Regions from separate parts of the Homo sapiens genome. Here all the other regions are linked to region 3. The links are contacts of gene promoters, found by promoter capture Hi-C in human tissues and cell types (Jung and others, 2019). All regions are on one chromosome and are shown on one strand. Each heading gives the region's core, a stretch centred on a gene start or on the middle of the fragment in contact. The rest is flanking DNA. Distances are from core to core; before and after follow the strand shown. Region 1 overlaps CUL4A (cullin 4A). Region 2 overlaps CUL4A (cullin 4A). Region 3 holds the start of ADPRHL1 (ADP-ribosylhydrolase like 1). Region 4 holds the start of TFDP1 (transcription factor Dp-1).

Evidence for each region. Contacts are between HindIII fragments. The study calls those that stand out against the background at their distance.
Region 1: a fragment that was not itself captured here is called in contact with the fragment with the promoter of ADPRHL1 in region 3 in 1 of the 25 tissues and cell types used here (H1 embryonic stem cells).
Region 2: a contact is called between a fragment that was not itself captured here and the fragment with the promoter of ADPRHL1 in region 3, in 1 of the 25 tissues and cell types used here (mesendoderm cells).
Region 4: the fragment with the promoter of TFDP1 here is called in contact with the fragment with the promoter of ADPRHL1 in region 3 in 1 of the 25 tissues and cell types used here (heart right ventricle).

What each region holds. Positions count from the first base shown.
Region 1 is chr13:113,225,630-113,228,329 of GRCh38, reverse strand. It overlaps CUL4A (cullin 4A), which reads right to left. Exons shown (of 20, transcript NM_001008895.4): 4 at 285-354. Among named protein-coding and RNA genes, the nearest start is that of CUL4A, 17 kb to the right of the region's middle. The HindIII fragment of the contact is 5,587 bases long and covers 1-2,700 here.
Region 2 is chr13:113,259,003-113,261,772 of GRCh38, reverse strand. It overlaps CUL4A (cullin 4A), which reads right to left. Exons shown (of 20, transcript NM_001008895.4): 19 at 1,014-1,166. Among named protein-coding and RNA genes, the nearest start is that of MIR8075, 2.5 kb to the left of the region's middle. The HindIII fragment of the contact is 6,677 bases long and covers 1-2,770 here.
Region 3 is chr13:113,452,059-113,454,855 of GRCh38, reverse strand. It overlaps ADPRHL1 (ADP-ribosylhydrolase like 1), which reads left to right and starts at 1,368. Exons shown (of 8, transcript NM_001394807.1): 1 at 1,368-1,632. The coding sequence starts at 1,419. The HindIII fragment of the contact is 9,965 bases long and covers 1-2,797 here.
Region 4 is chr13:113,583,435-113,586,287 of GRCh38, reverse strand. TFDP1 (transcription factor Dp-1) reads right to left here and starts at 1,535. Exons shown (of 12, transcript NM_007111.5): 1 at 1,400-1,535; 2 at 439-514. The coding sequence starts at 450. RefSeq lists silencers at 703-1,072, 1,443-1,772 and enhancers at 1,741-2,712, 2,713-2,853. The HindIII fragment of the contact is 44,568 bases long and covers 1-2,853 here.

The DNA.
Region 1 (2,700 bases), core at 10-2,509, 230 kb after region 3:
GGAGTAAACTGTGCTTAAAGAGACATTTAGAGACCCATGCAGGCATCTAAGAACCCTGTCACCACTGCGGACTGTGACTGTGGACCTGAAGGCCAAGAGGGTCAGTGGTGCCCTCTCACAGGAGCTGAGGAGTTCACCTTCCCTGCTTTTCTCATCGTGCTGTTCAACCACAGCACTGAACACAGACAGAATCCTCAACAGAACTTCTATGTCTCAGCTCTCAATCATGTGGGTGAGGGAAGATGGATGAGGTCGTGTTTTGATGAAAAAGTGAACAAGCTTACCATTTGTCTGCAGTGGTCCTGCCAGCACGTGTTAATCTTCTTTAAAAATAAAACACTATCTAGTGAGTCTGTACAGATCTGCTAAGGAAAACTTTAAAAATGCTGGCCAATTTAATTATTACCTTTTTTTTTTTTTTTGAGATGGAGTCTCGCTCTGTCGCCCAGGCTGGAGTGCAGTGGCACGATCTTAGCTCAGCAGTGCAGCCTCTGCCTCCCAGGTTCAAGCGATTCTCCTGCCTCAGCCTCTTGAGTAGCTGGGATTACAGGCGTGTGCCACCACGCCCAGCTAATTTTTTGTATTTTTAGTAGAGACGGGGTTTCACCATGTTGGTCAGGCTGATCTCGAACTCCTGACCTTGTGATCCACTGGCCTCAGCCTCCCAAAGTGCCGGGATTACAGGCGTGAGCCACCGCAACCGGCCATTATTACAATTTTAACCCCTTAATTTCAGCTACCTTCTCCACTGAATACTACACACCATTCAGTAACTGGAATACTGAAAGAATATTAGTCTTGAATGTTCATGTCCCCCCAAAATTCATAGGCTGAAGCTCTCACTCTACGGTAATGGTGTTAGGAGGCAGGGCCTCTGGGAGGTGATTAGGTCATGAGAGTGGACAAGCCTCAAGAATGGGGTTACAAAAGAGACCCCAGAGAGCTCCCCTGCCTCTTCCACCACATAAGGATGCAGTGAGAAGGTGCTGGCTATGGACCAGGAAGCGGGGCCCCACCAGACATGCAATCTGCCAGTGCCTTGACCCTGGACCTCCAGCCTCCAGAGCTGTGAGCAACAGACTCCTGCTGTTGATGAGCCACACTCTATGGTGTTTTGTCATGGCAGCCCCAGTGGGCTAAGATACACTAGAAGTTCAATCATGGATCTCTGTATCTCATCACCAATGTGCACTCAGCTTGCCTGTGCTGCTTTCCCTTCCCACGGCCCCGCCTGCCTCTGGCCGCTCGCCACTCCCTCTCCAGCCTCCCTTCATCCTCTCCTTCCTTCACTGCCAGACACCTTCAAGTCCCTGCCGGCAGAAACACACCCAGGCCTTAAGTGCCCTGGGGGTAGGTGGCGGGACAAAAGGCCCCACTTCACAAAGGGCAGACACTGAACATACTCCCACAGGGGGGCTCCTGGAGATGGTGACTGGCCTGGTAAGAGTCACTAGGACTATTTTTTAAAAATTAAAAGAGATGGCACCTCACTATACTCCTAGGCTGGTCTTGAACACGTGGTCTTAAGTAATCCTCCTCAGTCTCCCAAAGTGCTAGGATTACAGGTATGAGCCAGTGTGCCCAGCCTGTGGCAAAGTGCAGCTGGACAGGAAAATGGCTCAGGTTTAACTTCCAGCCTCAATGAAAACTAACATGAACTCTCATCCATGCACCAAATTAGGAACACTCTTACCTTGACTCTTAGAATGTGTATTTTTAGGAAAAGGCCCAAAAAGTAGTTTAGGACAAAGAACCCAGAATATGGGCTCCTAGAGCAAGTGGTCTGGTGTCCCTCAGGTTCATGCAAAGCTGAGAATCATCAATGACAATAAACTGCTTTATGGTTTACGAAACACTCTTCACATCCACTCTCACTGAAAATCTCCCCAACCTCGTGGTGCAGACATTGTTCCCTTTGTACAGATTAAGAAAATGGCTTGTCAAAGGGGACAGAACATGGACTTCCTACATTTTAACTCTTGATCCACCGCCTGTCAGCAACACAATACTGGCCAAACCAAGGGACTTCTCTAGGTCTGTTTCTGCCGTGCAGCAAGACACTTCACACTCAAGAGCCAATGTGAGGTGGTGACAACATCCTCACACACAGAGAGGAGGAAAAACACATCAGTTAAGTAGGATGCACAAATCAGACATGAGCTGGAGTCTCAGGGTGGCAACGAGTGGCCTGACAAAGAAAGAGTGCCAGGGAGGGTAGGGTGCCAGGCAGAGCCTGAGGAGGAATAAACAGTGCTGAGGATAGCCAAGGGGCTCCCGGGGGGTCTGAGTCCTTGTCACACCAGGAAGTGCTGTGACCAAAGCTACAGGGGCCTGGCTAAGACAGCTTACTCTATTTTTTCTTGAGGCTTTGCAGAATTCTCAGAAGCACTGCCAGAAAATTAAAAACAGACACTTACAGCAAAGACCTAATGGTTGAATGGTTAACAGGTTCCTCTGGAAGTACTCTTTACAAATTGTTCAAAATTATAATGGCTCATTATATTAGGAATCTACAGAAACAGTCTGGACAAAACAAAAAAACCCATCCCAAGTGCATCTGGACAGGCTTCAAGGACCCCCAACAGCCATCCTGCAGCTCTGACTCCAGGAGCTGGACGGGAACTGCGGCCTGGACCTCCCAGCAAGCCTCTCTGCGGGCAGGCGGGCCACAGCAGCCGAAGGCGGAGCTTTGCTTCCAGA
Region 2 (2,770 bases), core at 200-2,699, 190 kb after region 3:
AGCAGAGCGGGCGCCCTGGTCTGCCACACTCTACCCCTGAGAGCAGAGTGGGCGCCCTGGTCTGCCACTCTCTACCCGAGAGCAGAGCAGGTGCCCTGGTCTGCCACACTCCACTCTTGCTCACCTCTGCTTCGCGCTGGGCCTGATTGTTTGCAGTGGCAACAGGAGACTTGCTCCAGCTGGTGGGAGGAAGGGGCAGTGAACCTGATGGTGCTTTTGGAGCTTCCCAGGGCCCTGAGGACGGCACCTCACCTCTGCAGGGAAGGGGGCAAATGTGGGCTGATGGACAGTGGCACTTCCACCAGACTCTTAAGTGTTCGACTATTTAGTGCATCTCAACTTTATTCCCTTGATGGAATGGGAGGCTCAAACTGCACAACATGGAATCTGGGGACTTTCCCTCCAAAGCACGTGTGGCCGGTCCTGTCCCTGAGAGGCCAGGCGTCATCAGAGTTCAGTATTTCCTGGGTTGATAAATACATGTAAAAAACGTTTCATAATACTTTCCCGGCTTATCCTGCATCCCACACGTGGCAGGACAGTAAATCTCAGTTCTGAAAACAACGCGGGTTGACAGGCCTGGGCTGACTTTCATAAGCAACAGCAACAGTAGACTATTACCGTGGTGGAAAACGCGGTGTAGGCTGTAAACGCTGAGTAAGTTAGTTATTGTTATCATTTCCTTAAAATCTTGTGATGTAACCTTGACCGCTACTACTATGAGAAAAGTGTTCAGCTTTCCATGTCCCATCTACCTCTTCCCTTCCTGAAAATATGAACAAGCGCGCACCATCCCTGGGAAGGAGAGTTTTAGGGCTCTATCATTTCTGCAGTGGCAATGAGCAACACCTGGAATAAAGAGCTTCACATTTGCCAGTTTTTCTACATTCAGTGTATACACAAAGCACCATGAATAATGCAGGTCAAATGATATGACTGAACATAGAATTAAACATGCTTTGTCAATTGTTTAGCAAATACTACAAATTTAATTATGCTAATGTTACATTTACCTTTACTGGAAATTTCAGCTGATTATATAATTCAGAAACTAGAAGATTATGACCAAGAGTCTTTCTCATCTTCATTATTCTGACGATAGCAGCATCAATCTGATATTGTCTATCCTGAAACACTCTCTCAGTGGTGCTAACCTGTTCCTCAACCTGTATAAAAAAGAAAAAAAAAGTTAAGTGTAAAACTGTATTTTCTTTTTATTTTTTGCGATGGAGTCTCACTCAGTTGCCTGGGCTAGAGTGCAATGGTGTGATCTCGGCTCACTGCAACCTCCGCCTCCCAGGATCAAGCGATTCTCTTGCCTCAGCCTCCCGAGTAGCTGGGATCACAGGCACCTGCTGTCATGCCCGGCTACTTTTTGTATTTTTGTACAGGCAGGGTTTCACTATGTTGGCCAGGCTGGTTTTGAACTCCTGACCTCAGATGATCCGCCCACCTTGGCCTCCCAAAGTGCTGGGATTACAGGTGTGAGCTACCACACCTGGCCTATATTTCAATATTAATGACCTGATGTTACCGAATTTGATGGGAAATGGTTTTTTTTTTTTTTTTGAGACGGAGTCTCACTCTGTCACCCAGGCTGGAGTGCAGTGGCGCGATCTCGGCTCACTACAAGCTCCGCCCCCCGGGTTCACGCCATTCTCCTGTCTCAGCCTCTCAAGTAGCTGGGACTACGGTGCCCCCCCACCATGCCCGGCTCATTTTTGTATTTTTAGTAGAGACAGGGTTTCACCATGTTAGCCAGGCTGGTCTCGATCTCCTGACCTCGTGATCCACCTGGCTCGGCCTCCCAAAGTGCTGGGATTACAGGCGTGAGCCACCGTGCCTGGCCGGAAATGTTCTTTTGATGCAAAGAAAGGTCAGACATTGGATGAATCCTACTTTATTATGCATGTTTACTTGTTGTAGTAAAAGGTACCTTCCCAGAATAGCAAAACTCCAAAACCAAAACTTAAAAAATATTTTTAAAAGTTATTTTCCTTATAAGAAAGCTGCAACAACTCTATGTGTGATGTAGATTAAAACTAGCAGCACAGTAAACAAAACATAATGACCATCAGGATATATTCCAGAAATGTTAAGTGTTGATCAACATTAGGAAATCTGTGAATATAAGTGAGAGCACTGTAGCAGTTGAAAGGTTAGATTACATGACCATCTTGATAGATGCTGAAAAGGCATGATAAAATTGATTTTTTGATTTAAAACAAACATTAGCATACAAGGATGAATAAAAAAGCATCTGAACATGATAAAACATGGTTATCAGAAACAAACAGCAAATACTAGAGACAACTTAACCTTAGTCCAACAGGAACCTGATGGGGATCTGCAGTTGAAATGAGGGCTGGGGGAAGGTCTGTGCATACATATGAGGCAAGTATGCTTCAGGATGGGAGAGACTCCAAGCTTTCATCACATTTTCAACAGGATCCATGACCCCCAAAAAGTTAACATCCTCTGAACTAGAGATAAAATTAGGAAGCTCAGCTGCACTGCTATTCCTTAAAAACATTACTTTAGAGGTTCTAACTATGCAATACAGGAACAGACTAAAGAGGTATATTGAAAAGGTGCAGACAAAACGATCATTATTTGTAGATGAGCTGGAAAATCCAAGAAAATCAACAGAAAAACTTTCAAAGCTAAAGAGTTTTGTAAAGTGGCTGGAAATAAAATAAATATACAAAGACAAATAGCATTAATACATACATTCTGATAAAAACCGTCAGAAATGTAAAGAAAAAAGGTC
Region 3 (2,797 bases), core at 119-2,618:
CCCAAGTAGCTGGGATTACAGGTGCCCACCACCATGCCCGGCTAATTTTTGTATTTTTAGTAGAGACGGGGTTTCATCATATTGGTCAGGCTGGCCTCAAAATCCTGAGCTCAGGGGATCCGCCCGCCTCGGCCTCCCAAAGTGCTGGGATTACAGCCATGAGCCACCGCGCCCGGCCTGCATGCTGGTTTTGAAGTTTGTTTCTGAATCTCAGGATCATGCTAGCTGGCATGACTGTGCTGATGGCTGCCTCCACCAGCAGACAGTGGAGGGTGAGGTGAACTCACTGCTTGAGATCCTCCGTTTTAACAAGTGCTGATATAACGCCAGGCGGTTAAATGCTTCCTACTGTCTCGCTGTACACTACGAGAGTTTTTATCAGACGCATTTCTTCAGTCCAGGTGTAACTCTTTGCTTCCCCTGGGTCTGATGGAAACCAGGCCCCGAGGAAGGAGACGGGAGAGACACAGCCCTGCTGGGCTCCCGGCCTCTGCGGAGAACTGTCCTGGGGTGGGGTCGGGAGATGGACTGTTTTCCTAATTTATTTCAAACCAGGAACCCTGGCTGTGTGCATTCTGCCTCACCCCCCGTCTCCATATTTTTTAATATTCTTTTCATGAGCTAGCAGGGATGATGTAAATACACTGAGCTGACCGAGGGCCGGATGGGAGGTTCTAGTGAAGCCTGCGGTTTGCTGACGACTTTCCCCCTCAGTGCAGTCCAATTATTTGGGAGCCGTTAAACACCGCATGCTGAGAAGACACCGTCATTGTTCACACAGGAGCTAGATAGACTTTGTTCCCTCTACACTGCATTTTTTAAAAGTTTTCTATCAAAAACACATTTCATAATCGAAAAGTTTTCTAAATGATAAAACCGCATGTCACAGATTAATCTCAACATTATGTTGAGTGAAGGAAGCCAGACACCGAAGGCCACACATTGTATTTGAAATGTCCAGGAAAGGCAGAACTGTAGAGACAGCAGATGGGTTGTTGCCCGAGGGGTGAGGGCACGCCCCGCAGCGGGCGGCAGTGACAGGCACGCCTGCACACATCTGCTCCCGCATCACCCCACGCCACACACGGGGAAGTGTGCGCACTCCTTCCAGGGACAGCGAGAGGAGCCCCTGCTCTGTCAACGCTCTGAATGTGCTGCGGCTGCCGGCAGAAGCTAGCAGGCTCCTCTGCTGAGGAGCTGGTGCCTGTCCAGACGCAGAAGAAAACTGACACCTCCCACGTGGGGGACAGAAAGGTCCTCTCATTGGTGCCACCTGCAGAGATAGACAAGGAGCGCCTGGCCATCAGAGGACGCTCCTGACAGTGACACAGTGACCACTATAAAAGTCAGGCGGGCTGAGGAGGAGACAAAGGCCAGGACGCTCCGCAGCTGTTGGGGAAGAGGAGCTGCCTCCTGGGATGGAGAAATTTAAGGCTGCGATGTTGCTGGGGAGCGTCGGCGATGCTCTTGGCTACAGAAATGTCTGCAAGGAGAACAGCACTGTAGGCATGAAGATCCAGGAGGAGCTGCAACGTTCCGGGGGCCTGGACCACCTCGTACTCTCGCCAGGAGAATGGCCCGTGAGTGACAACACCATCATGCACATCGCAACCGCCGAGGCCCTCACCACAGGTAGGCTGGGCCCACCGCGCTCCGGTGTGCGGGCTGGAGGGAACACTGGCTGCTCGAGTTCTCCCAGTAAGCCTCCGAGAGCTTTGAAGGCAGTGCGGTCCTTCAGCGGATGGTGTTACCTGATACCGCTGCTAAAAGTGGCAATTTAATCTGAGTGTCCCTCAAATTTGATATGCGGCAGATCACGTTTCTCCTGTGGTTTCTCTGAGGGTGACAGTATTACTTTACTTTGCAGTTATTAAGATTCAGTTTTTAAACGTGACTTTTCACTTGTATTTGTAAAGCGTTAACTAGGCCTAGCACCTTCTGTTTCTAATAGAGTTAAAGCCAGTGAAGCCTCTCTCGGCCGTGCTGGTGGGAGTAGGGTGAGGGCTCACTTCTCGCTGCAGAGATTAAGCCTTCTTGTTCTGAATTCATTACAAAGGGATGTAAAATAAGCCAGTTTGAAATGTGAACCCATTAATACTGTTTGGGGATTAGTTCTAAATTCCAATGAATTAAAGTTAGAATATCATCTCCCAAAATGGTTCAGCTTGGAGAGTTGCCCATACACAAATGTGTTCTAAGAAAATGACATAAACTTGATTGGACGAGATTGGAGACAAAGCTTCTTAAAATACCTTTAAGTAGCAAATTGATTTTAGGATCAAGCTTTTGCATGAATTTCAGGGAAATGGCAGGTGCACAGACATGCAGTCCAGCTTTCCTACGAGGCATTTGCTCTTCAAAACCCCGTGGGTGCTGTTTATCATGGCAGAATTAAAATCTGAGGGCTGCAGCTAAGTCAATGAAATCTCACTTATGCGTTCACTCCACCATTCTGTTCATCTGCCATGGACGTGCCCAGTTTAGTTCTGTGCTCACAGCAGAGGAATGCCATCGAGCCTGTGGCCGGTCCCTAAATAACGGGAGAGCTGAAGCGCCGGCGATAAGATAAGGCTCCCGGCTTGCTGGAGACGGGGAGGCGTCCGACTGTTCACAGCCTTGGCGTCCAGGAGCTCCTGCTTCTGGTTTTCCAGGCGGCCACTCGTGTGCCCTTAGGACCAGCAACCCCATGCTTGTGCCCCGCAGCCCAGAACAGGTGCACCCCACACACAGACACCTGTGGGACACAGCTCCGGCTTGTTTTCACCGTAGACGGCTGGAGCTCACTCTTGAGTTTGGC
Region 4 (2,853 bases), core at 286-2,785, 130 kb before region 3:
TAGGAAGACAGGTGCCAGCAGGTGGCTACAGCCTGAGCCCTGAGCCTGGCCCCCGTCCAGCGTCTCATGTGGAAGCCCCCCAAGAAATGCAGGATTCGCTGCGGTGCTGCAACACCCTCCACCTCAATTTAATTAAGGCGTTTATTTAAAATTATCAATTAACACAGTCGGTAAAGATAAGGAAAAAGTCAGAAGGCACCACCCCATCACCACCCAACTGCAGTGTGGTATCCAAGGCCACAACTTGTGGGTGGTGACCGCAGCTTCAGAGATCAGATCCTTCCATCTTTCACCTTCATCCCGCTTCAGACGCTTTAAAAGTCTGAAAATAAACACTACTGTAGCTTATGTGTTGTCATTCTGAAATAAAGGCAGAGAACTACAAAGAATTTAGTGCGAGGCAAACATTCGTGTGCAGCATGAAGCAAACATACTTACATCTTTTGCCATGTTACCAGATCCGGGAAATCAATGCTACAAATGTTCACCTTCCCAGAGAAGAAAAATGATTTTTCTGGTAAAAAAAAAAAAAAAAGTAAGGAAAAACAAGAAATAAGTAAGAATGAAAAACGAAGTTTAAAAAATAACACATCTCAAAGGAAACGCGGACCTTCCTTCCCAAAGGCACCCTCCATCCTGAGAGCGGAGCTGGCCAAACCGACTCCCACACTCAGGATTTTCAGTCGCCTCGCCAGACGGAAATGCCCCCTGCGGAAAAGTGGCCCGCGGGCCCGCAGGGTCACCACCACTACCCCCAGGTCCCCGACGGCCCGCCCAGCGGCCGAGGGTGGGGCCGAGCCCCAGGAGCCAGGGCGCAGCGCCTCCCTCCCGCCGCTGCAGGGGGGTGCCCCACCACCCACCTGGGCACAGCCCCGGGGTCCCGGCGCAACGTGCAGGCTCGCGGCGTCCACCCCAGACCCCGGCGGCGCCCGCCCGGCTGACCGGTAACTCTGACAGGTGGGCTTCCGGGGTCCGCGCCGCGCGCCTGTCACTAGGCCTCGGGCCGCCTCCGCACGAGGCGCCTCCCGCGCGCGCCGGAACCGGGTCCCCGCGGGCCGCCGTGGGGCGGCCTCCCCTCCCCCGCCCTGCGCGCTCCGGCCGACCCTGGCCCCAGCCCCGGCCCCGGCCCCGGCCCCACCTCCAGCGTGGGGCGCGGACGCTGCTGTCGGCCGGGAGGGCCGGGCCCGGGACCCCCGCCCCGCGGTCACCTGGGGAGCCCCTACCAGCGCCGAGCGCGCGGGGTCCCCGAGGCACAGGAGCGCGCAGGGCGCGGGAGGGCGCGGGTCGGGGCCGCGCGGCGCCTACACGCGGCCGGGGCAAGGGATGGGGTGGCCGGGGGTCCCGCCCGCACCCCCGGCTCCCGCCCGCGGCTCCCGCGGCATCCCCTGCCCACCCGCACCTGGCTGCCCGGTCCGGCCGCGCGGGCGGGGACGCGGAGAGGGCGCGGTGCGGAGCGCGGGGCGGCGCGGAGAGGCGCGGGCTGGGGCCGGGCCGGGCGGTCCCGGCCGTGGCGGGGTCCCTGCCCTGGGCCGAGTGGCGCCGGGACGCGGGGCTCACCCTGGCCGAGCGTCGGGCCGGCGTGACGTGCGCGCGGCGCGGTGACGTGGGCGGCGGCGGGCCCGCTCCGCGCAGCGCGCCTGCGCGCCTTTTCGCGCCTTCGGCGCCCTCCTCCTCCTCTTCTGCTGCTCCTCGGTCTCCCGCTCCTCCCGCCAGTGCTGCGCGCCCTGGGAGAGCGGGGAGGGGCTGTGCGCGCGTGTCCGTGTGTGCGCGTGCGCGTGCGGAGATGTAGCTGGGGCCTGCGCCGGGACGGGCAGTGCGCGCGCGCGGCGTGCGCTCGGCGGCCAAGGGACTGTGTTTGTGCGCGCCTCTGACTGTGTGTGTCCGGAGAGAGAGGTGGCCGGCTGTGTGCAAGAGTGTGTGTGCACATGGGGGAGCGGGGCCGGCTATGTGCACGAGTGTGTGTGCATGTGGGGGAGCGGGAGCTGGTGTGTGCACGTGGGGGAGCGGGGCCGGCTGTGTGCAAGAGTGTGTGTGCACGTGGGGGAGCAGGGACTAGTGTGTGCACTAGTGCATGTGCACGTGAGGGAGCGGGGACTGGTGTGTGCACTAGTGTGTGTGCATGTGAGGGAGCGGGGACTGGTGTGTGCACTCGTGTGTGTGCATGTGAGGGAGCGGGGACTGGTGTGTGCACTCGTGTGTGTGCATGTGAGGGAGCGGGGACTGGTGTGTGCACTCGTGTGTGTGCATGTGAGGGAGCGGGGACTGGTGTGTGCACTCGTGTGTGTGCATGTGAGGGAGCGGGGACTGGTGTGTGCACTCGTGTGTGTGCATGTGAGGGAGCGGGGACTGGTGTGTGCACTAGTGTGTGCATGTGAGGGAGCGGGGACTGGTGTGTGCACTAGTGTGTGCATGTGAGGGAGCGGGGACTGGTGTGTGCACTAGTGTGTGCATGTGAGGGAGCGGGGACTGGTGTGTGCACTCGTGTGTGTGCATGTGAGGGAGCGGGGACTGGTGTGTGCACTAGTGTGTGTGCATGTGAGGGAGCGGGGACTGGTGTGTGCACTAGTGTGTGTGCATGTGAGGGAGCGGGGACTGGTGTGTGCACTAGTGTGTGTGCACATGGGGCAGCAGGTAGGGGGCCGGGTATGTCAGGATGTGTGTTTGTGTGCAGGGAGCAGAGAGTGCCGGCTGTGTGCGCGAGTGTGGGGGGGGGAGCAGGGACTAGTGTGTGCAGGAGTGTGTGTGCACTTGGAAGAGCGGGGCCGGGTGTGTGCTTGAGTGTGTGTGCTCAAAGAGGAGAGCCAGCTGTGTGTGCGCCTGTATGCACGGAGGAGAGGGGGCCGCTTGTGTGCA